5 separate regions of the Homo sapiens genome follow, and regions 1, 2, 4 and 5 are each linked to region 3. Evidence: promoter capture Hi-C in 16 types of primary human blood cells and fetal thymus (Javierre and others, 2016). All regions are on one chromosome and are shown on one strand. Each heading gives the region's core, a stretch centred on a gene start or on the middle of the fragment in contact. The rest is flanking DNA. Distances are from core to core; before and after follow the strand shown.

The links. The method cuts DNA at HindIII sites, captures the fragments that hold promoters and counts their contacts. A CHiCAGO score of 5 or more calls a contact.
Region 1: a fragment that was not itself captured here is called in contact with the fragment with the promoter of UNC5A in region 3 in 1 of 17 cell types (M1 macrophages); the score reaches 6.0 in M1 macrophages.
Region 2: a contact is called between a fragment that was not itself captured here and the fragment with the promoter of UNC5A in region 3, in 1 of 17 cell types (M1 macrophages). The highest score is 6.0, in M1 macrophages.
Region 4: a contact is called between a fragment that was not itself captured here and the fragment with the promoter of UNC5A in region 3, in 2 of 17 cell types (M1 macrophages and M0 macrophages). The highest score is 6.9, in M1 macrophages.
Region 5: a fragment that was not itself captured here is called in contact with the fragment with the promoter of UNC5A in region 3 in 1 of 17 cell types (M1 macrophages); the score reaches 5.3 in M1 macrophages.

Annotation. Positions count from the first base shown.
Region 1 is chr5:176,643,040-176,645,739 of GRCh38, reverse strand. It overlaps EIF4E1B (eukaryotic translation initiation factor 4E family member 1B), which reads right to left. Exons shown (of 9, transcript NM_001099408.2): 4 at 2,474-2,658; 5 at 2,006-2,101; 6 at 1,301-1,364; 7 at 497-610; 8 at 224-363. Among named protein-coding and RNA genes, the nearest start is that of TSPAN17, 3.1 kb to the left of the region's middle. RefSeq lists enhancers at 1-433, 1,015-1,654, 1,655-2,296. The HindIII fragment of the contact is 4,593 bases long and covers 1-2,700 here.
Region 2 is chr5:176,582,912-176,586,922 of GRCh38, reverse strand. It overlaps CDHR2 (cadherin related family member 2), which reads right to left. Exons shown (of 32, transcript NM_017675.6): 18 at 2,664-2,733; 19 at 1,908-2,513; 20 at 898-969; 21 at 81-130. Among named protein-coding and RNA genes, the nearest start is that of GPRIN1, 25 kb to the left of the region's middle. The HindIII fragment of the contact is 1,497 bases long and covers 1,758-3,254 here.
Region 3 is chr5:176,809,005-176,813,159 of GRCh38, reverse strand. It overlaps UNC5A (unc-5 netrin receptor A), which reads right to left and starts at 2,601. Exons shown (of 15, transcript NM_133369.3): 1 at 2,340-2,601. The coding sequence starts at 2,409. The HindIII fragment of the contact is 10,823 bases long and covers 1-4,155 here.
Region 4 is chr5:176,602,226-176,606,513 of GRCh38, reverse strand. All of the region lies in intron 1 of GPRIN1 (G protein regulated inducer of neurite outgrowth 1), which reads left to right. Among named protein-coding and RNA genes, the nearest start is that of GPRIN1, 5.8 kb to the left of the region's middle. The HindIII fragment of the contact is 3,857 bases long and covers 1-3,493 here.
Region 5 is chr5:176,621,234-176,625,317 of GRCh38, reverse strand. It overlaps SNCB (synuclein beta), which reads left to right. Exons shown (of 6, transcript NM_003085.5): 5 at 4,015-4,084. Among named protein-coding and RNA genes, the nearest start is that of MIR4281, 6.2 kb to the left of the region's middle. The HindIII fragment of the contact is 2,743 bases long and covers 1-2,646 here.

The sequences.
Region 1 (2,700 bases), core at 192-2,691, 170 kb after region 3:
GTGGAAACCCAAAATATGACCCCCTTAATGCAAAAGGAGAGCTGCACTGCCGTAAGAGAAAGTTAGAAATCTGAACGCCAGACCTTCCATACAGGTGGGCAAGGCAGAAGGGAGGGAGGCTATGGAGACTTTCAGAGGTCTCCCATGCAGGCCAAGCCCCCTCCACCCACCTTCCCTCTAGCAGAGACCCAAGTCCCCACCCTGTGCCAGAGACCCTCCTCACCCAACGTGCAGCACGCCCGCCTGGTTTTCCGCCTCCCTCGTCCACACAGCGATCTTGTCCCCCTTGGTGCGGATGTTGACGACGGCCCCACATACCTCTCTGCTGTGTTCCTCAAAGCTCTCCCCGATCAGACACAGCAGCTGGACCCGAAGTAGGGGGTTGTGAGATCACCGGCTGGGACATAGGGACTGGCCTGCCATCCTTGAGACCACTGCCACCATGAGACCCACACAGCCCGTCTCTTCCCCTGAGGACCCTCCTCCTCCAACTCACCGTCTCCAGCCACAGCCGGTCCAGCTCAATGTGGCGCTGCTGCTTGGCCAGGCTGACCAGCCAGCGGCCACCCCGTTTATTCCTGCTGTCCTCCCACATGGGCTGGATGCCATCCTGCAAGGCAGATGGCAAGTCAACTGCCTCCCTGTGTTCAAAGGGAAATGGGGACCCACCCACCATCCCGGCCTTATCCGCTCTCTGCTGAGGCCCTAAGTAGGCCAGATTCTCTTATCCTCCCTTCCCTCAGTGCAAGCAGGTTCCACCCCCAGCCACTCAGCTCCCCCCGACAGACAGCACTGGTCACCTTGTATAGCCTTGTATATGTGCATGTCTCTTTTACTGAGTTCCTTAAGACAAGCATTCAAATCGGGGTGGATTAAGGAAGCCTCAGGGGCAGACCCCAATGCAGGCAAGGGGGACATCCCAGGCTTGGCTGCATGGTTCCCAGGCAGGGCAGAAGTCACTGGGGAGATCTCTAAACACAATGTCAGCCCTCCAGGGATGGGTGTGGCATCAATGAGTGTCCTCAAGCAATTCTGATGCCCTTCCCTAGTTAAGGAGCCAGGTCAGAAATCTCTCCCTCTCCCTCTTCCCGCCTCTTAAGGTCCTCCAAGGTGCGGCTTGGGCCTGACCTACTCTGTCCGGGCTCCTGTAGAGCATTTCCTCCAGTCAGAAACCACAACTCTGCTGAGAGGTGGCCCGTAGCTCCCCACCCCCACCCCTCTGAGGGATTAACGCAGTGGAGTCCGGGAGGGATCAACCCCTTGTCCCTTTGCGGGAGGGAAAGAGGAGAGCAGAGCTTACCTTGAAGAGGGCGTAGTCACAGCCAGAGGAGAGCTTGCTGGCCAGCTGGATGTGACTGTATAGCCTGGACAGAGCCCCCGACCCCATGCCAAAAGTCAAGGCTTTTTAGGGCCTGGTTCCAACTGGGTTCAGCCCTCCCAACTCCTCATCCGACCCCATGGCCTCCAAGCCTTTGCTTACACTGGCCTGCCACCTGGGATTCCACTCCCGTTTATCCAAACTCTCAAGACCCACCTTTTCCACAGAGCCTTCCCAGTGAAGGCTGAGCCAACCCCTGGGGAGGGTTTTAGACCCCCTGGTGCTCCCCCCTCCAGCTACAGCCGAGGCCTTCTCACCCTCCCTAGGGCTTGTGTAGCCCTTTTCAGAGCCACTCCCGTGAGCACCCGGACACTGAGGCAGCCGAGTCCTCCCTTTGCAGCTGAGACAGGTTCAGAGAGGGGAAGGAACTTGCCCAGGTCACAAAGCCCTGGAGTGGCCGAGTCAAGGTCAGCTTCCTGCTTCTCCTGCTCCCCAGGCTCTCTCCCTGAGCCCAAAGAAGGTGGTGGGGTGGGGGGTGGTTGTGCCCTATACCCCCTGGGCAGAACCCACAAAGCCCCAGCCCTCACAAAGGCTGAAAGGCCCTAGGGAGGGCTGGCTCAACCCGGAGAGAGGGAGCCCAGAGCTCAGAGCCCCCCAACTCTAGCCCCACTGGGGACAGACACTCACGCCCAGAAGTCCTCCACAGTGTCCACCTTGGTGACCAGGTGCAGGTTGTCCTGCCAGGCCCGGCTGCGGTCATTCTTGAAGAACCACAGAGCCCACCTGGTAGGGGAAGGGGGAGGCAGCCAGGAGGAAGCAGAGAGCCAAGTCCACCCCCGGGGCACCTGGACTGACAGGGAGGACCCTCCCCTTCAAGGGCGAACTGGGAGATGAGATTTGGGGCACAGCATTCCCCTCTCAGGTGAATGAAATCAGTTGTCCTGAAGGGCAGGGGAGGAGTGGGGGTGTTTGACCCACAGTCTCTGCGGGGTTAGGGCTGGAAGGGCCAACAGGGCCCAAGGCTTAGGTCAGCCCTGGCCTCCCACGGATGAAGAGCTAGGGCCAAGAGAGGCGGGGTTGCCCAAGGCCACGCTGCCAGCACAGAGGCTGGCCTGAAAGCAAGGGGCTGTGTTCCACTCGCAGGCTCCTGCCTACCTGTTCTGCAAGGGGTGCAGCTCCAGCTTGACTTCCATGGGGCCCCCCGTCCGGGCCTTCCCTCTCAGAGACAGCAAAGTCCTGGGAGAGTTTGGAGACTTTTCTCCTGTGGGCGTCCTCTCTGCTGCCTCCTCCTCCTTCTCCTCCTCCTCCCACTCTCGGATTCCACCCTCAGCTTCACTCACCTGAGCCAAAAAAAGGAGTCAGGATGGGTTGTGAGCTCTGGC
Region 2 (4,011 bases), core at 1,257-3,756, 230 kb after region 3:
TACCATGGAAGGCCTGAAGGCCTCAGCCCTGTGTCCCCTGGGGCTCATATGACCAACAAAGGCTGGAGCCAAGAACTTACCCGGACAGAAGCCACCTCCCGGTTGGGCAGCACGAGTTCAGGGATGATCACTGCAGGTGTGAACGGGAACGGGGTCAGCGGGGTCGGGACACTGCCCACCTGGACCAAGGCTGGTCACGAGCCCAGCTCAGGGCTCATCCCCCTAAACCTGCCCTCAACCTCTCTACCAAAAGAGACCCCTATTACAGCCACCACTGGGCCAGTAGTTAGCAAGTCATCCACCTCCCATTGTCACAGGTGAGGTCACAGGCCCACAGGACCATGCGGAAATGGAGGCCCAGAGAGGGAAGTCCTGGCCCAGGGCCAGACATTAGGTCGGACAGAGCTGGAATGAAAACTCCAGTGTTGGCTGGGCATGGTGGCTCATGCCTATAATCCCAGCACTTTGGGAGGCCAAGGCGAGCAGATCACTTGAGGCCAGGAGTTCAAGACCAGTCTGGCCAACACAATGAAACCCTGTCTCTACTAAAAATACAAAAATTAGCCAGGTGTGGTGGCGCATGCCTGTAGCCCCAGCTACTCTGGAGGCTAAGGCATGAGAATTGCTTGAACCTGGGAGGCGGAGGTTGCAGTGAGCTGAGATCGTACCATTGCGCTCCAGCCTGGGCGACAGAGCAAGACTCCGTCTCAAGAAAAAAAGGAAAGAAAAAAGAAAACTCCAATGTCCTCTCCTATTGCAGCCCTAGGAAGATGCAGGATTAGAGGCCTTCCCCCCTTTCTAAAGGCTCCCCCTGGGGTCCAAGGAGGGTCTGTCGGGGTTGCTCAAAGGCGGCCTTATGGAGCAGGGGTATGGTGTGTGAATGGGGTTGCTGCTTACCAAAAGTCTTATTCTCAGGCAGAAAATAGGGTGCATTGTCATTCACGTCCTCAATGGTAATGAGGAGGCTTCCTAGGAGACAAGGTCAGCTGGCTTTGGCTCTGGGCAAAAGCTTGACCCAAAGAGCCTGGGCCTCAACCCTGTGCCCCACAGCCTCAACCCCATGCCCCGCAGCCTCAACCCCGTGCCCCGCAGCCTCAACCCTGTGCCCCGCAGCCTCAACCCCGTGCCCCGCAGCCTCAACCCCATGCCCCGCAGCTTCTCTCCCATGTGTTCCCCCATGCTCAGTCCCCTTCCCTGCTCCTGACCCAGAATGCCTGATCGGTCTTCTCTGGCCTGTGTGGGTGGGAGTATCATCCCAGACCTCAGAGCAGATAAGCAGCTTGTCAAAGTCACACAGCAATAGTGGTGGGCCAGGATTGGGCCCAGCCTAGGTAGATCTCACCTATGACATTATACTGACACATTCTAACTATATAAGCTGGTTGTTTAAATACCCACTTTCTGCCTCAGTTTCCTCATCTATAAAATTGGATAGGGAACACCTACCCCATGGGTTGTGTGGAAGTGGAAAAATTCTTACAAGGTGCCTGGTGTAGTTCTTGGCTGTCATAAGGACTCAATATATGCTAGTTGTTAATGTGATTATTATTGCTATTTGGTGTCAGAAGTGGGATACAAGCACACATCTAGCTCTGCAGTGTTATCTTTCTTTCACAGCATCTTGTAAAATAATGGCATTAATTTGATGCTACTGCATGCCAGGCACTGCAATAAATGCCATACATCCATATTCTCATTGAATCTTCACAGCCCACCCCACTGCCCAACTCCACTGGACAGATGGGGAAACTGAAGCTTGGAGAGGGTTTGGGACTTTCCCAGTATTTGCAGCTGGAAAGGGCTGGAGCCAAGATCTGAGCCCAGACCTTGTGAGTTCCAGCCCAGGGCTCCTTCCCGCGGCCCCTAAGCTATGGCCTGCCAAGCCCTGCAAGGACAGGCTGCCTTACCATTGTTGCTGTAGGCCTGGAAGCCGGGGTCCGTGGCTAGGTCACAGGCCCGCACAACCAGCGTGACCAGGTCACAGGCCTCGTAGTCGATGGCTTTGCTCTGGTTGATGTACACAGAGCCGTTGGCCGCCACTGAGAACCAGCCCCAGCATAGGCTGCCCACATCGACCCCGGCCTTGGTGCAGAGAATGTTCACAAGCTGTATCTCCAGCTGGGCACTGGTGTCCACATCCGAGGCAACCACCACAGCCACCTGGCCGTGCTGTGAGCCATTCTCAGCCACACGGATGCCCCGGAGTGAGGCTACATCCAGGGTGGGGGGATTGTCGTTCACGTCTTTCACATTCACGCAGACGTCTACTATGGTCTCACCCCCCTGGGGGTCTGGGTTCTCAGCACTCACTGTCAAGTTGAAGACGGGCTGTGTCTCGTAATCCAGGCTCACGTCCGGGGGCAGCCGGAGGTAGCCCTCAGCCCACCCAGCCCCCAGCACCAAGCCTCGGATCATGAAGTAGTTGGCACCACTCCCCGACAGGCTGAAGCTGATGCGGTTGTTGGCTTCCGTCTGGTCCGCGTCCCAGGCCTTCACCACGCCCACTAGCACTCCTGTGGACAAGGGGCAGAGCTCAGAAGGACTCCTGACCCCGCCATCGGAAGCCTCCTCTGCCCTTGCCTCTCTTGGAACTCGAGGTCCACCCTGACAAAGCCACACTGGGTCCCAGCCGCAGTGTCTCTCCTGGCCCAGGGAGCACATACCTGGATCCTCCTCCTTCACCGTAAAGTTGTAGCTGGACTGATTGAAGATGGGCAGGTTATCATTGATGTCCTGCAGTCAGAGACAGGTCTGAGTCCCCGGGATCCAATCTCACCCTCCCCAGAGCCAATCCGAGAAACCAATAATCCCTGTGCTCCAAGGCATGGACTCTACTAGTGCCTCAGACCTCACTGCCCACTTCCCAGATGAGGAGACAGGCTCTGAGAGGAGGGAACTTGCCCAGGTCACACACCCGGGGTTCAGGGACCTACAGTGGGACCTTGGCCTTACACATCCATCCTCAGGAAGCCCTGCTTGCTTCCTGTTTCTCTGACCACAGCTCAGGACTTGTTCTAGACCCTGCTTTCTAGAAGCACAGTTCTGGGTCCCCACCTGCGACCCTGCCTGGCCCAGCTTGACTCCCATCTCTCGGATTTATTGTGTTGGCACCAATACCATTATATGTCCACAAAGGCTCCAAGGCCCACACTTTCCCTTGTCCCCTCCTACCCCTGTCCCTCCTGCACACAACTGAGCCCACAACACCAGCTCTGTGCTCAGTCAGAGCTGGGCTCCGGGGACCTGCAGAAGCTTAGACCTGCTCCTGCCTCAGACACCAGCTGTTTTTGGCTCTCACCTCTGTGGCCAGCCCTAGCCCACTGGGCACAGCTGGAGCCCTGCAACTATTGTCACAGCCTGGAGGTGACTCTGCCCTCCCCTATGTCTCCTAACACTGGCATGTGCTTGGGGGATGCCCTGAGCACTCCAGCCCTTCCCAGGTTTGTGGGTCACATAACAGGTGTTTGTTTTTCTGAATAACCCTAGAATGAACATTTGGAAGACAACATTCTTGCACCTTAGCTAGATGTCTTTTCTGCTGCTAATTTCCCAGCGATGACATCATTGGCTCCACGCACAAGACCAGCTGCATTCTCAAGGTCACCCTAACTCACAGGAGTGGATAAGAGCACTGAGTCACATCTTGCTCCACCTCTGCCTCATGTGTGACCTTGACCTCTCTGGACCTCAGTGTCCTCATCTGCAAAATGGGGTAGTAGTCCCCACTAATAGGGCAATTGTGAGGACGGCTCACAGGGGTGAAGAAACCTGTTCACTCAGGAAATGAAGTTCTCTCTTTGCAGCCCTCCCACCCTAAGGACAACCAGCAAGTCCTCATTCTGCTTCGTTTTCTTCATTTCTGAGGTCTCACTCTCTGACCCTTGTGTGAAAATGGCACATCCCAGTCCAGGGGACACAGGGCTGCTATGTGCAGTGGTGCAGGCTGTGCACTGCACAACCCTATGGGGTGCCATCCACATCACAGACACGGCAGAGGTGCACATTTGTCAC
Region 3 (4,155 bases), core at 1,352-3,851:
AGACAGATGGGTGCTTGCGTGCGCGGGCACAGAGAGGGCCTGCAGGTGCGAGCATGCTGAAGGGACAGGCTTTTGTGTGATGTCCAGCAACAGAGGGTGGGCGCGTGGCCTGGGGAGCAAGCGGCTGCAGTCAGTCGCGCTGGCCCCCGGCGCCCCCTGCTGCCCGCTGGCCATCCCTCCCTCAGCGGCTCACAGACACATTTTTCACCGGAGGCTGTTGCAACGGAGGCAAAAGGCAGCGCGGGAGGAGCCCGGGTCACGGCAGGGCCAGCCTGCCTGGGCGTCCACATGTGCCCAGTGCCTGTGGGGCACAGGGGGAAGGGAGTCCCAAAGAAGTAGGGCCAGCCCCTCCCCACCCCATGGCCTTCAGCAGCTCCTCCCGCAGGCCCAGGGGCAGAGTTGATGCCTTGGGGCAGGCTCTGCGTCAGCCCCTGCAGCACCTGTGCCCACCTGCCGACTCCCTGGGCAACCTTGGGCCAGGCCTCAACAGATGCCCTGCCAACCAGGGATGCAGTTTCCCCACCCCCACAGCCTCCTGAGGAGTCCCTGTGGCAACCCCCCGCTCCAGGCCGCAGCACCCTGCTTCACCGGTACCTGTGCCCCCTTATCTGTACACGCTCACCTGTGCAACTGCACACAGCCGTCACACACGTGCGGCATGCTGGTCATCACACACGTTCATCAGGGCACACACATGCCAATGCTGCACACACCATGCCAACCCCCCTGGTTACCCGGGCACACATGTCAACCCACAGCCTTCACACGTGCTCACGTGGGCGACATGCAGCTATGACCACACAGCCCTCAAAAGCATCAACTCAGAAAACATTTCCAGGGTACCTACTGGGTGTCAGGCAACACCCCACCTGTGTGTGGGGCACTAATATCCCCACCTCATCATGGACAACAGTGCAACCTGCACCCGGGTGCTCATCTGCGGAGCTGCACACACGCCCCTAACACACACATGTGGCGGACACGGACACACACCCAACAGCAGTTCAGCCTCTCAGCTTGGTCAGGATTAGAAGGAGAGGCCCTGGGGAAGAAGAGGGGTGCTGATGGAGAAGGGAGATAGAAGGGGTGGGATGGAGTAGAGAGGGGTACTGAGGAGGCAGGATGGGGCGGGCGGTCAGGCAGTGGTGGGTGCAGGATGCGCTGCGCAGAGACACCCTTTAAGGAAACAGCCATCGGCCTCAATCATCAGGCTGGCTCCTGAGCTCCCACTCATTGATCTCTGATCAATCTGGTTTGGCAGCTCAGAAACCCCAGTGCTCCCTTCCAACACCCCTGTTATAAGCAGCGGCCTGGCCAGGCTGGGGAGTAACCGCCCAGGTTCTAGGGGCAGCAAGAATCGAGAATTGCCAGGGTAAGCCTCAAGCCCCCTTGACCACACAAATGGCACCCACCCCCCACCACCACAGACACATACGCTCAACTCAGCTAAGTGCATGGGGGGCAGAGATCAGGAGGCCCCCACAGCTCAGCCTAGGTGAAGGCTCAGGGACAGCAGACAAAGGATGCAGGGGAACTTCCTCCCCCCAAGCCCCTCCCAAGGGAATGAGGTGGGCTGAGGGCTGAGTTAGCAGTGGGTTAGGGTGACCAATGGGGCATGCAGGGGCCAAGAAAGGCTATGGAGTTTAAGGAAGAAGGGGAAACTGGCGGACCAACCACACACAACTCTGGCCCCCCGCACCAGGGAGGCCAGGAGCCACAGCCCCGGCCACCGGGACCGCGGCGCTTTGACTGTGCTGGCTGCAAGGACTGGGGGCTGGTGTATGCGCCTCCACGCCTGAGTGTGTGCGTGTGAGAGCGTGTGTGGCGGGGACAGAGGAGGACACTGTGTTCTGGACGTGGGCAGAGGCCAGGTGCCAAGCTGGGAGATTGTGAGTGGCTGTTTAGGGCAGATGCTACCGGGAAGAGGTATCTTAAACGTTCCCCGCACCCCCCATTTCCTGGGCACTGGGATAGGCTCAAAACCCTCTAATCTTCGAATCCTCAAAGTCAGGCTCCCTGGGGTTGATCCAAACCCCCAGCCCTGCTCCGGGCCCAGGCAACCAGCAAACTTCCCCCACCCGGAGGCGTGGGGTGTCTACACTCGCCAGCCCCGCGGGCTGACAGCTGCTCCTGGACTTGGCAGAACCCAGGCTTCCGGGAGAGCGCGCGGGGAAGCTGCGCAGCAGCAAGAAGAGCCCCCCGCGTCCCGCCTCGCAAAGTTTGGCCTCGGGGGGCTCCCAGCCGGGTCTGGCAGCGCTGGTCAGGGACCCCCAGAGCAGCGAGCGTTCGCGCGCACGGTCCCCCGCAAGCCTCCCCAGAGCGCGCGCGGCGTGACTCACCCGAGCCGCGGAGCCAAGCGGCGAGGACTATGCCCAGGAGCGCTGGCCACAGGCCGGGCCGGACGGCCATGGCCGCGGGCGGGCAGGCGGGCGGGCCGGGCGCGGGGCCCCGCGGGCGGGAGGGCGGCTTTAGCGCCTCAGCCCGGAGCCCCAGCTCGGGGCGCCCCCGGGGCCCATGCCAGCGGACTGCGCTGCCTCCGGGCGGCCGGCTGCCGGGCGCACGCGGCGCGTGGCTCCCTTGGGCACGGGAGCGCAGCAATGCAGCCGGGGCGGAGCGCAGCGCCAGCCGCGCCGCGCACCGAGCCAGCCGCGCCGCGGAGCCCGCAGCCGGAGAGCGGGCCGGTGGGCGCCGCAAAACCCGGACTGGAGCGACGGAGCGGGGCGGCGGCTGGGAGGGGCGGGGGAAGGAAGGAGGGGCCGGGCCGCCCCGCGCAGCGCGCGCGGGCCACCCCCAGCACCGGGAATCCCTCTGGGCGATGCCTGAGGCTCCCCCAGGGAGGGGCTTGGGGTGGTGGGCGTGGAGGCCTCCCACCGCCCCGCGGGGTCTCCAGGGACAGGGGCAGGAGTCTGAAACCCGGAGTGGATCGGTGCTCCGGATCCGGGCTCTCGCGGGCCCGCCAGTCTGCGCACAGGTGGCCCGGGAGGGGCCCGGGGCTGCGGCGACCCCGGCGCGGCGCCAGCCTGCGGAGAGCCGCCCAGGGCAGGGGTGCCCCGGGCAGGTTCCGCTGCAGTCCTCTCCCCCGCCCTTTCCTCGCGGCCGCGCTCCGGGGTCGTCCGGGCGCCGCGGTACGCTGCCAGCCCGCGGCTTGGTTAGGGGACTGCGGGAGAGCCCCGGGGCCCTGGCCCGCGCGCAGAGGTGCCCTGGCCACCAGAGCTGGCAGGCCAGACTCGGGGACACCCGCAGTCCCAGCCTCGCAGGCTGGTGGATTCCAGGGGCGCGCCTCACACCATGACCCAAGGTTTCCCTAACCCCTCGGCGCCGTTCGCCGAAGGAAAACAACCTTCAGGCGCAGCACACCCGACTGGGCGCGCGGTGTTTGAGCCCCGAGAGCGCACGGCGCCCGCGACGTGGGTGTAAAGGAACGAGCTGGGCTTTGGCAGCTAGGGAGACCGGGGGTAGGGTCCAGGCGACTTCACCTTCCAGCTCTGTGACCTTGGTCAAGTCACGTCGTCTCCTGGAGCCTCCAGCAGTGACCGCTGCTGGAGTCTCCTGTGCCCCACCCCCATTCCCTAATCGGGTTAAAATAAACAGAGGGCTGCCTTGAAGGAGAAAGGAAATGACAGCCGCGTGCGGTGTGCCTGGGGGGAGTGATCGGAAAAAGAGAGGGTCCTAGTCTGGGTCGGGAGGGGAATGAGCAGGGTGAGGGCAGGGTCGCAAACTCAAACGCCTACGGGGCCGGTCGATAATATAAATTGGCGCTGCAGGCTAGGCGATGTAAGGGATGGTCTTGCTTCCACAAAGAGATATGAGCTCTCCTATATTTCTTGAGACACGAGGCCCTCTCTCGGTCTGTCTTTTGTTTCCCACTTTTGATAGAGAAGGGTTATGAAAAATGTTTTGCTTTCCTCTTAAGTCTACTATAAAAAACACCAGCTAAAGCTCCAGAGGCAACCATACAGACGCTGGGCTCCATCGCCAGGGAGGCAAAGGGCAGTGCTGGGGACAGGCACAAGGATCCCATCTCAAGGGGCAGCTGCCTTTTCTGCTCCAGGTGCTGGTTGTCGGGGGAGGGGACCGGGGCACAGTATAGCCGCATCTTCCAAATTTTCAACAGAAGCCGTCGTATGTGAAATATTCTGATTTAAAATTTTTAAC
Region 4 (4,288 bases), core at 316-2,815, 210 kb after region 3:
ACTGCCAAATTTTAGTTTTCCAAGAGAAGCTGGAAATCTTACTGTCACATGAAATCTTCTAATGTTTAGAAGTTGATCGGTTAATTCCTTTTTAAAACTGATTTTAAAATGTGTTTAGCTCTGTGGGTCAAACAAGCCTGTCTGAGGGTCAGGTTTTGCTGGTTTGTGTCCCTGCTGCAGACCCTTTCCTCCCCTGCCCCCTCCTGGGAGCACAGCTGGGCTCTGACAGGCTGAGCAGATAAAAACAGGCCTTCCACAGACACAGCCCAGCCCTAAAGTGAGCAGAGTCAGGCACACCCCTCATTTTCTTTAATTCTCACTATAGCCCTGGGGGAGCAGGAGGTGGGTTCTTCAGGGTCCCCAAGGAGGAGAAGGGCGTTGCTTGAAGTCACAGAGCTGATAAGCGGTGGGCTGGCCTGACTTTCTGCCCGGGCTGCACCCAGGGAGAGGAGCTTATTGGCTGGGCTGGTGTGTGAGGACCCCAGGGCTGGGCTTCCAGGGCTGAAATGAGGGGTAGTGAGGGCCCAGAGCACCCTTCCTATATCCTTTGCTGACTCCTTCCAGCTCCAGCTAAACTCCCTGTACACCAGCCAGGCAGCTGTTGAATTCCTGTTTTCCAGAGAAGGAAACAGGCAGGCATGGTAGGCAGATCCTGGCCCTCACTGGAGCCTGGGCCCTTTCTCTCTCTCCCTGTCTCTGTTTTAAAGACAGTTTCTTGTTCTGTTACCCAGGCTGATCATAGCTCACTGCAGCCTCAAACTCCTGGACTCAAGAGATCCTCCTGCCTCAGCCTCTGGAGCAGGCAGGACTATAAGTACATGCCACCACACCTGGCTAATTTCTTTTTTTTTTTTAATTTTAATTTAAAGTTTTTGTAGAGACGGGATCTTGCCGTGTTGCCCATGCTGATCTGGAACTCCTGGCCTCAAGCAGTCATCCCACCTTGACTTCCCAAAGCACTGGGATTACAGCCGCGGAACTCCGCCCCAGGGCCCTTTCCCTTGACCATCTTCCCGGTCACCCTGGCTTATAACGTCCTTTTCCATAGGCCAAGGGCCAGATGGATCAGAGGTTGCAAGCTGGTGACCTAGGGGTCAAAGTTGGCTCATGAAAGTGTTTTGGCCGGGCATGGTGGACCATGCCTGTAATCGCAGCACTTTGGGAGGCCAAGGCAGCCAGTCACTTGAGGCCAGAAGTTCGAGACCACCCTGGCCAACACGGTGAAACTCTGTCTCTAGTAAAAATTTAAAAAATTAGCTGGGCATGGTGATGTGCGCCTGTAGCCCCAGCTACTCGGGTGGCTGAGGTACGAGAATTGCTTGAACCCGGGAGGCAGAGGTTGCAGTGAGCTGAGATTGTACCACTGCACTCCAGCCTGGGTGACAGAGTAAGACTCTGTCTCAAAAAAAAAAAAAAAAAGTGTTTTGTTTAGCCTGTATGATATTTTTTAAATTAGCCAATATTTAAAACATGGATATCCATGCTGGGCGCGGTAGCTCATGTCTGTAATCCCAGCACTTTGGGAGGCCAAGGTAGGCAAATCACCTGAGGTCAGGAGTTCGAGACCAGCCTGACCAACATGGAGAAACCCTGTCCCTACTAAAAATACAAAATTAGCTGGGCATGGTGGCGCATGCCTGTAATCCCAGCTACTTGGGAGGCTGAGGCAGGAGAATCACTTGAACCTGGGAGGCAGAGGTTGCAATGAGCCAAGATAGCACCATTGCACTCCAGCCTGGACAACAAGAGCAAAACTCTGTCTCAATAAATAAATAAATAAAATACAGATATCCAGATTTATGACTTAGCTAAAAAAAAATTTAGGAAACCTGGAGGCACAGCGGCCACATTCACTTCCCTGCTTAAATACTTCCAAGGGGCGGGATACAGTGGCTCACTAGGCGCTAGGTATAATCCTATTGTAGACACGAGATCCTGCTATGTTGCCCATGCTGGTCTGGAACTCTTGGCCTCAAGAGATCAAGGTATAATCCTATTACATTGAGAGGCTGGGGTGGGAGGATCACTTGAGCCCAGGAGGTCAAGGCTGCAGTGAGCCGAGATCGCGCCACTGCACTCCAGCCTGGGCAACAGAGTGAGACATTGTCTCAAATAAAAAGAAAATACTTCCAGGGTTTCCAGTGCCCTTAGGCTAAACCCCCCTCCTCCACCATGCCTCATGTGATTTGCTGCCTCCTCTTCCGCTGCCACCCCCTTTCCGACTCCACTCCAGCTCTTCATGGCTGGCTCAGATGGTAACTGCCTCAGAGGGGCCTTTCTTGACCACATGTCTAAACCAGCTGCCCACTCCTTTGTCTTCACAGCATCCATTATTTGAAATACTATGATTTATTTGCCACTTGTTTATTTCTCTCCTCCCAATCTTTCTGCATCTATAAGGCAGGGACCCCACATTTCTTATTCACTGCTGTATCCCCAGTCCCAAGAATAATGCCTAGAACATTGCCTGTGTGCTCAGTAAATGCTGAGTTAATGGAATGATTCCTAATTGGCCACAGCTGGCAGGAATTGAGTGCCGTTGCCCCTTTAGAAGGGGCCAGTGCCCTCTAGTTTGCCACAGTCCCCACCACTCCCTCTTGTCTCCCTCAGTCTGGGGATGTCAGGAGTCTTTCATCATCTCCCTTGTAGGAGAAAACAAATATTTGTGCCCATATCACTATCAAAAGGCCAAAGATGAAGATGGACTCAATTCACGCCACTCAAATCTGATGCCTGCCTGACCCCTGCAGGCTGGTGACCATCCAGTGATCCCACGAATTCCAACCAGACCTCTCCCGTGCTTCTGGCCTGCTTCCTACTGCCTCCTGGATGTCACCCCCCATAAGTCCCATGGGCACTCCAGTTCCACTTCCGAAACCCAGTGCCCCATGATCCTCTGCAAAACTGTTCCTCTTCCTGTGTTCCCTCTTAGTGATGGTCCCCCTCCCCCACCTCATAAGCCAGAGCCTGAGGGACCCAGTAGTGAACAGTATCGACTGTGTCCCCATCCAGAGACCTGAGGTCTGGCCAGGGACCCAGAGGTGTAAATGGCCAGATGCAGAGTGACATGAGCCTTGTTAGAGGAGGAACGAGAGGCTACAGGAATCCCCAGGAAGCTGGTAGCCAAACAAGGCCCACTAGAGGAGGAGGTGTTTTAACGGAGATCTGAAGGTGTAATAAGAGACAGCCAGGCAAGAAGGGAGGGAGAGATTCCTCCAGAAGAGGGTGTGTAGAGGCTGAGATGGTGGGGGAGAGAGAGAGTGTGTATCTGTGTGTGTACATGTTTTGGGGGTGGGAGTGGGTAATGAAAGATAAATCCCAGCACTTAAGTAGAAACATAGGGGCTTAGGAGCATATTAAAGAGCTGGACTTTACCCCAAAGGTAAGAGTGAGTCATTAAAGGTTTCTCTTTATTGTCCATTGGAAAAAAAAAGGACTATGTGCGCACATAACCACAATTTAAACATCACAAAGGGGCGCACAAAGAAAAGCTTCTCCCACCCTCAGATCCCCGCTCTTCCTTCTGAGAGGCAGTCACTGCTAAAAGTTTTATAGGATTCCATCCAGAAATTCTCTTTATAAATAAACCCATCCATGTGTGTCCTTTTCCTTGGCTACACGCGTGGGATCCCAGTAGCGATGCTGTCCCCTGGCCTTTTTCAATTAATTTATCTTGGGTGCTTTCCCTCATTACCCCACACCTTCTAGTAGCTGCCCGGTGCTCTGCGTGGTTGTCCCACAGTTCACAGAACCTGCCTCCCCGTCTTGTTCTCATCACTAGCCATGCCCTTGTGTACCCCAGGACCATCTTCAGGACCCCAGGTCTATCTTTAGGACCATGCTTAGAGGTGGGCTTGGTGGCTCAAATGCTATGCGCGTTGTAAACTTTGATAGAAATTGATAAATGTCCTTCTAAAAAGATTACAACTAATTTACATTTCCGGCAAGAATGAGGAGGGTTTTGAGCCAAGGAGGGCACAGGTGGCTCTGCATCTTAGGTCATTCAGTCATTCATGGAACAAATCCGTATGAGGATCTTCCTTGCTTACTGCATGTGTGCCAGGTCTCAACTCTGGGATATATCAGATAGCACAGCAAAGTCCCCACCTCCTGGAGCTGGCATTTTAATGAGAGCAACACACCACAAGCAATAAGCGAATATATGTGATATGTCAGATGGTGACAGGTACTATGGAGGAAAACTGATTAGAATAAGAGGGTGGAGAATGCCAGCCAGAGCTGGGGAGGAGGCTGTTTTACATTGCATGGGTCAGGGAAAGCCTTGGGG
Region 5 (4,084 bases), core at 26-2,525, 190 kb after region 3:
GATTTGCATTTCTAACAAGTACCCGGGTGAGGTTGATGCCGCAGTTCCAGGGAGCATACTATGAGAACCATGGATATAAAGAGCTGGGTTTGCATACAGTGAATGCCCTGCAAGAGATTGTGGCCACATGATCACTCAAGCAGTCTGGGTCTGCCTGCAGGGGATCCTGTGACCACAGGCGTGCCTGGAAGTGGATCCCCCATGACATGTGTGTGCAGGCATTCGCTGTGAATGCTCTGTGTCTGTCCATGGACGCGTGCAGACCCTGCCTCCATGGGGATGGGGGCTCCTTCTGCAGCGTCTGGTTTGGGTGATCAGTGTACGTTCAGCATGAGTGCATCCACCAGGCTGTGGGAGACCCCACGCTGCCCTCCACTCCTGTCATTTTGCACAGTTGGTTCCTTCCACTGTTGGAAGTCAGGATCTTGACTCAGAAGTTCTAGTTCAAGCCCTGTCTCTGCATTTTACTATCTGTATGACTTCCCATTTGTTTTTTTTTGTTTTTTTTTTTTTTTGAGACGGAGTTTTGCTCTTGTTGCCCAGGCTGGAGTGCAATGGCACGATCTTGGCTCACTGCAACCTCTGCCTCCTGGATTCTAGCAATTCTCCTGCCTCAGCCTCCCAAGTTGCTGGAATTACAGGCACCCGCTACCACACCCGGCTAATTTTTTGTATTTTTAGTAGAGACGGGGTTTCACCATGTTGGCCAGGCTGGTCTCGAACTCCTGACCTCAGGTGATCCACCTGCCTCGGCCTCCCAGAGTGCTGGGATTACAGGCATGAGCCACTGCACCCGGCCATGACTTCCCATTTCTTATAATCATGTTACCAATAATCACTTCCATTCATTGATCTCTTTCATGAGCAGGCACTGTCCTAGATGTTTGACTCTAGATGAACTAACTCATTGACTCTTCCCAATGTGGCACCATAACCAGCCCGTTTTACAGATGAAGAGACTGAGGTTTAGAGAAGTGAAGTCACTTGCCCAAGACCCCATTTCCTGCCTGCCTCCCTTATAAGGTGGTCAGGAGGATAAGCTCAGGCCATGTCACTGGGGTCGCTTGGTGATGGCACAGGGCCAGTCCTAGTGCTGCGAGCTGGGGTGCAAAAGAGAGGCAGGTTCAGCCTGTCAGCCCCAGGCTGTGATGGGTGTTTGCACAGAACCATTTCTCTCTGGTCACCTTTCTCCTACTGGTGCTTGTTGACGCCTCAAGGCTACCCTCCCAAGGGAGCCCAAGATCATAGAGTTATAACACAGACAACAGCCCCTTGGGCCACCAGCGGCATGGGGGACTCATGCAGGCCCATGGTCTGCATTTCTGAGACTCTCTGCTTCGAGCATGCTTTCCATCCATCATCACGGAATCCTCACCAGCCTCGTTTCCCATGCAAGGCTGCTGAGATTAGAAGCAAAATGACTTGCCTGATGCCAGGTAGCTACCAGGTGGCCAGGCTGGGGTTGTTTGTTTGTTTTCTGAGATGGGGTCCTGCTATGTTGCCCAGGCTGATCTGGAACTCCTGGGCTCAAGCAATCCTCCTGCCTCAGCCCTCCAAGTATCTGGGATTACAGGCTATGGGTATTTTTTTAAGTGAACTTTTTATTGAAGTACAATGTACATGTGGAAAACTGGCAGCTCCATGAAATGTTCACAAAGGGAACTCCCCTTGTAACCAGTAGCCAGCTCGAGACAGAACACTACCCCCCAGGACCCCACCTTGTGACCCCTTCCAGTTCCTATCCCCAGGGCCAGGACTAGGGGGAGACAAAAGAGGTGTCTGGGGCACTCACTCATGGAGTCTCACTTGCATGGCCAGGAGACGGAGGCCAGGCCTCCCTAACATCTACACTCCAGGAGCCTCACCCACCTCCCCTCAGTCCTGGCCCTGCCTATCGCCCTCCAAGGGGAACTGCTTTCTGACTTTTTTTTTAGACGGAGTCTCGCCCTGTTGCCCAGGCTGGAGTGCAGTGCCACAATCTCAGCTCACTGAAACCTTCACCTCCTGGGTTCAAGCAATGCTCTTGCCTCAGCCTCCTGAGTAACTGAGACTACAGGCGTGCACCACCATGCCCAGCTAATTTTTGTATATTTAGTAGAGATGGGTTTCACCATGTTGGCCAGGCTAGTCTCAAACTCCTGACCTCAAGTGATCTGCCCACCTTGACCTCCCAAAATGCTGGGAGTGGTAACGGGCGTGAGCCACTATGCCTGGCCTTGCTTCCTGGCTTCTATCAGCACAACACTAGTTGGGTGTTTTTTGACTTCTTGTAAATGTTATCATGAGGCTGGGCACAGTGGCTCATGCCTGTAATCCCAGGCATGAGGCCGAGGTGGGCAGATCACCTGAGGTCAGGAGTTTGAGAACAGCCTGACCAACATGGCGAAACCCCATCTCTACTAAAAATACAAAAATTAGCCAGATGCAGTGGCACATGCCTGTAATCCCAGCTACTTGGGAAGCTGAGGCAGGAGAATCGCTGGAACCCAGGAGGCTGAGGTTGCGGTGAGCCGAGATCACACCACTGCGCACCAGCCTGGGCCACAGAGTGAGACTGTCTCAAAAAAAAAAAAAAAAAAAAAAAAGTCATCATGAAGGCCATGCTCTTCTGTTCTGTATCTGGCTTCCTCCATTCATCAGGAAGCTTGTGAGACTCAGCCCTGCTCTTGTATGCATTGTTGTTCTTCATTCTTGTTATGTAGTATTCCATTGTGTCGTTAGGTCACAAGGCACACATCCATTCTACTGATGTTGGACATTTGGGTTGTTTCCAAACAATGTGCTCAAGCTGGCTTGTTTTGTTTTGTTTTGTTTTGTTTTGTTTTGTTGAGATGGAGTCTCACTCTGTTACCTAGGCTGGAGTGCAGTGGCGTGATCTTGGCTCACTGCAAACTCCGCCTCCCGGGTTCAAGCGATTCTCCTGCCTCAGCCTCCCAAGTAGCTGGGACTAGAGGCACGCACCACAGTGCCCAGCTATCAAGCTGGCATTTTTAGCACTACATTCCATCCCTGGGTTCTGGTCATAGCTGGGTGACTTGGGGGCAAACTAACATTTCCCCACCTCCTGGGCCTTGGCATACGCATCTGTGCAGTGGGGAAATGAGCCAGGTCAGGAGCTGGAAACTCATGTGCCCACAGGGCCCACTTAGACAGGTAATGTGAAGGAGCTGACGCTGCCTGGATGGAGCTGGGACACCCAGGGTGCAGACGTGGTCAGGGCAGGCTTTCCCCAGCACCAATGCTCCGGGATCCCAGGCGTGTGCCAGCCCCACATGAGGCACTGCACAGGCTGTGCATGGATCCTAAGCTATCGCGTGTGCTTGTGTGTGCAGCCAGCTCAGTCCCATGTTTGTTCACATACATGTGGTCACCTGCAGGTGGCTGGCCATGTGTCTGGCAGCCCGCCCACATGCATGCCCGCTGGTCTGCGCCTGTCTGGGCAGCAGACGCAGCGGGTGGGGGGGAGAGTCTTAGCTCACACATCCAAGCAACACCACGAGCTGTGGCTTCCAGCTTATCTTAAAATAGCAACAGCTGAAGAAACGAGGCCACACAGGGCCCGGGGGAGGGATGAGTGGAAGGTGGCGGGGGAATGGCTCAGAGCCCCTGCCCAGCCCTGTCCCTGAGCCTCCAGCTCCCTTCAGCCCAGGGGAGCCTGAGGGTTATCTCTGGGGTCCCGATGCCCAGCACAGAGCCTGACACAAAGGATGAGGCATAAGCTGGTGACTGAGTATCCAAATGGTGGAAGTGTGGAGGCTGCCAGGCATTGGGGGAGCGGCGTGGAGAGCCAGCTCCCACTCCATGCTGCCACTTCAACTGTGATTCGGGGGAATTTCCCCCTTCACCTCCATCCCACTTCCAAGGCACTCCAAATAAATAACTGAATTAGAAATTATCCTTGCTCTGCCAACCCACCCTAGCCTTCCCCACTCCAACCCACCCAAAGCTTACCACTGTGGGAATTTGGGGGGCATCCTGGCTGTCCTCACGAGTCCTGACCTTTTCTGCCCACAGCCAGAGGAAGTGGCCCAGGAAGCTGCTGAAGAACCACTGATTGAGCCCCTGATGGAGCCAGAAGGGGAGA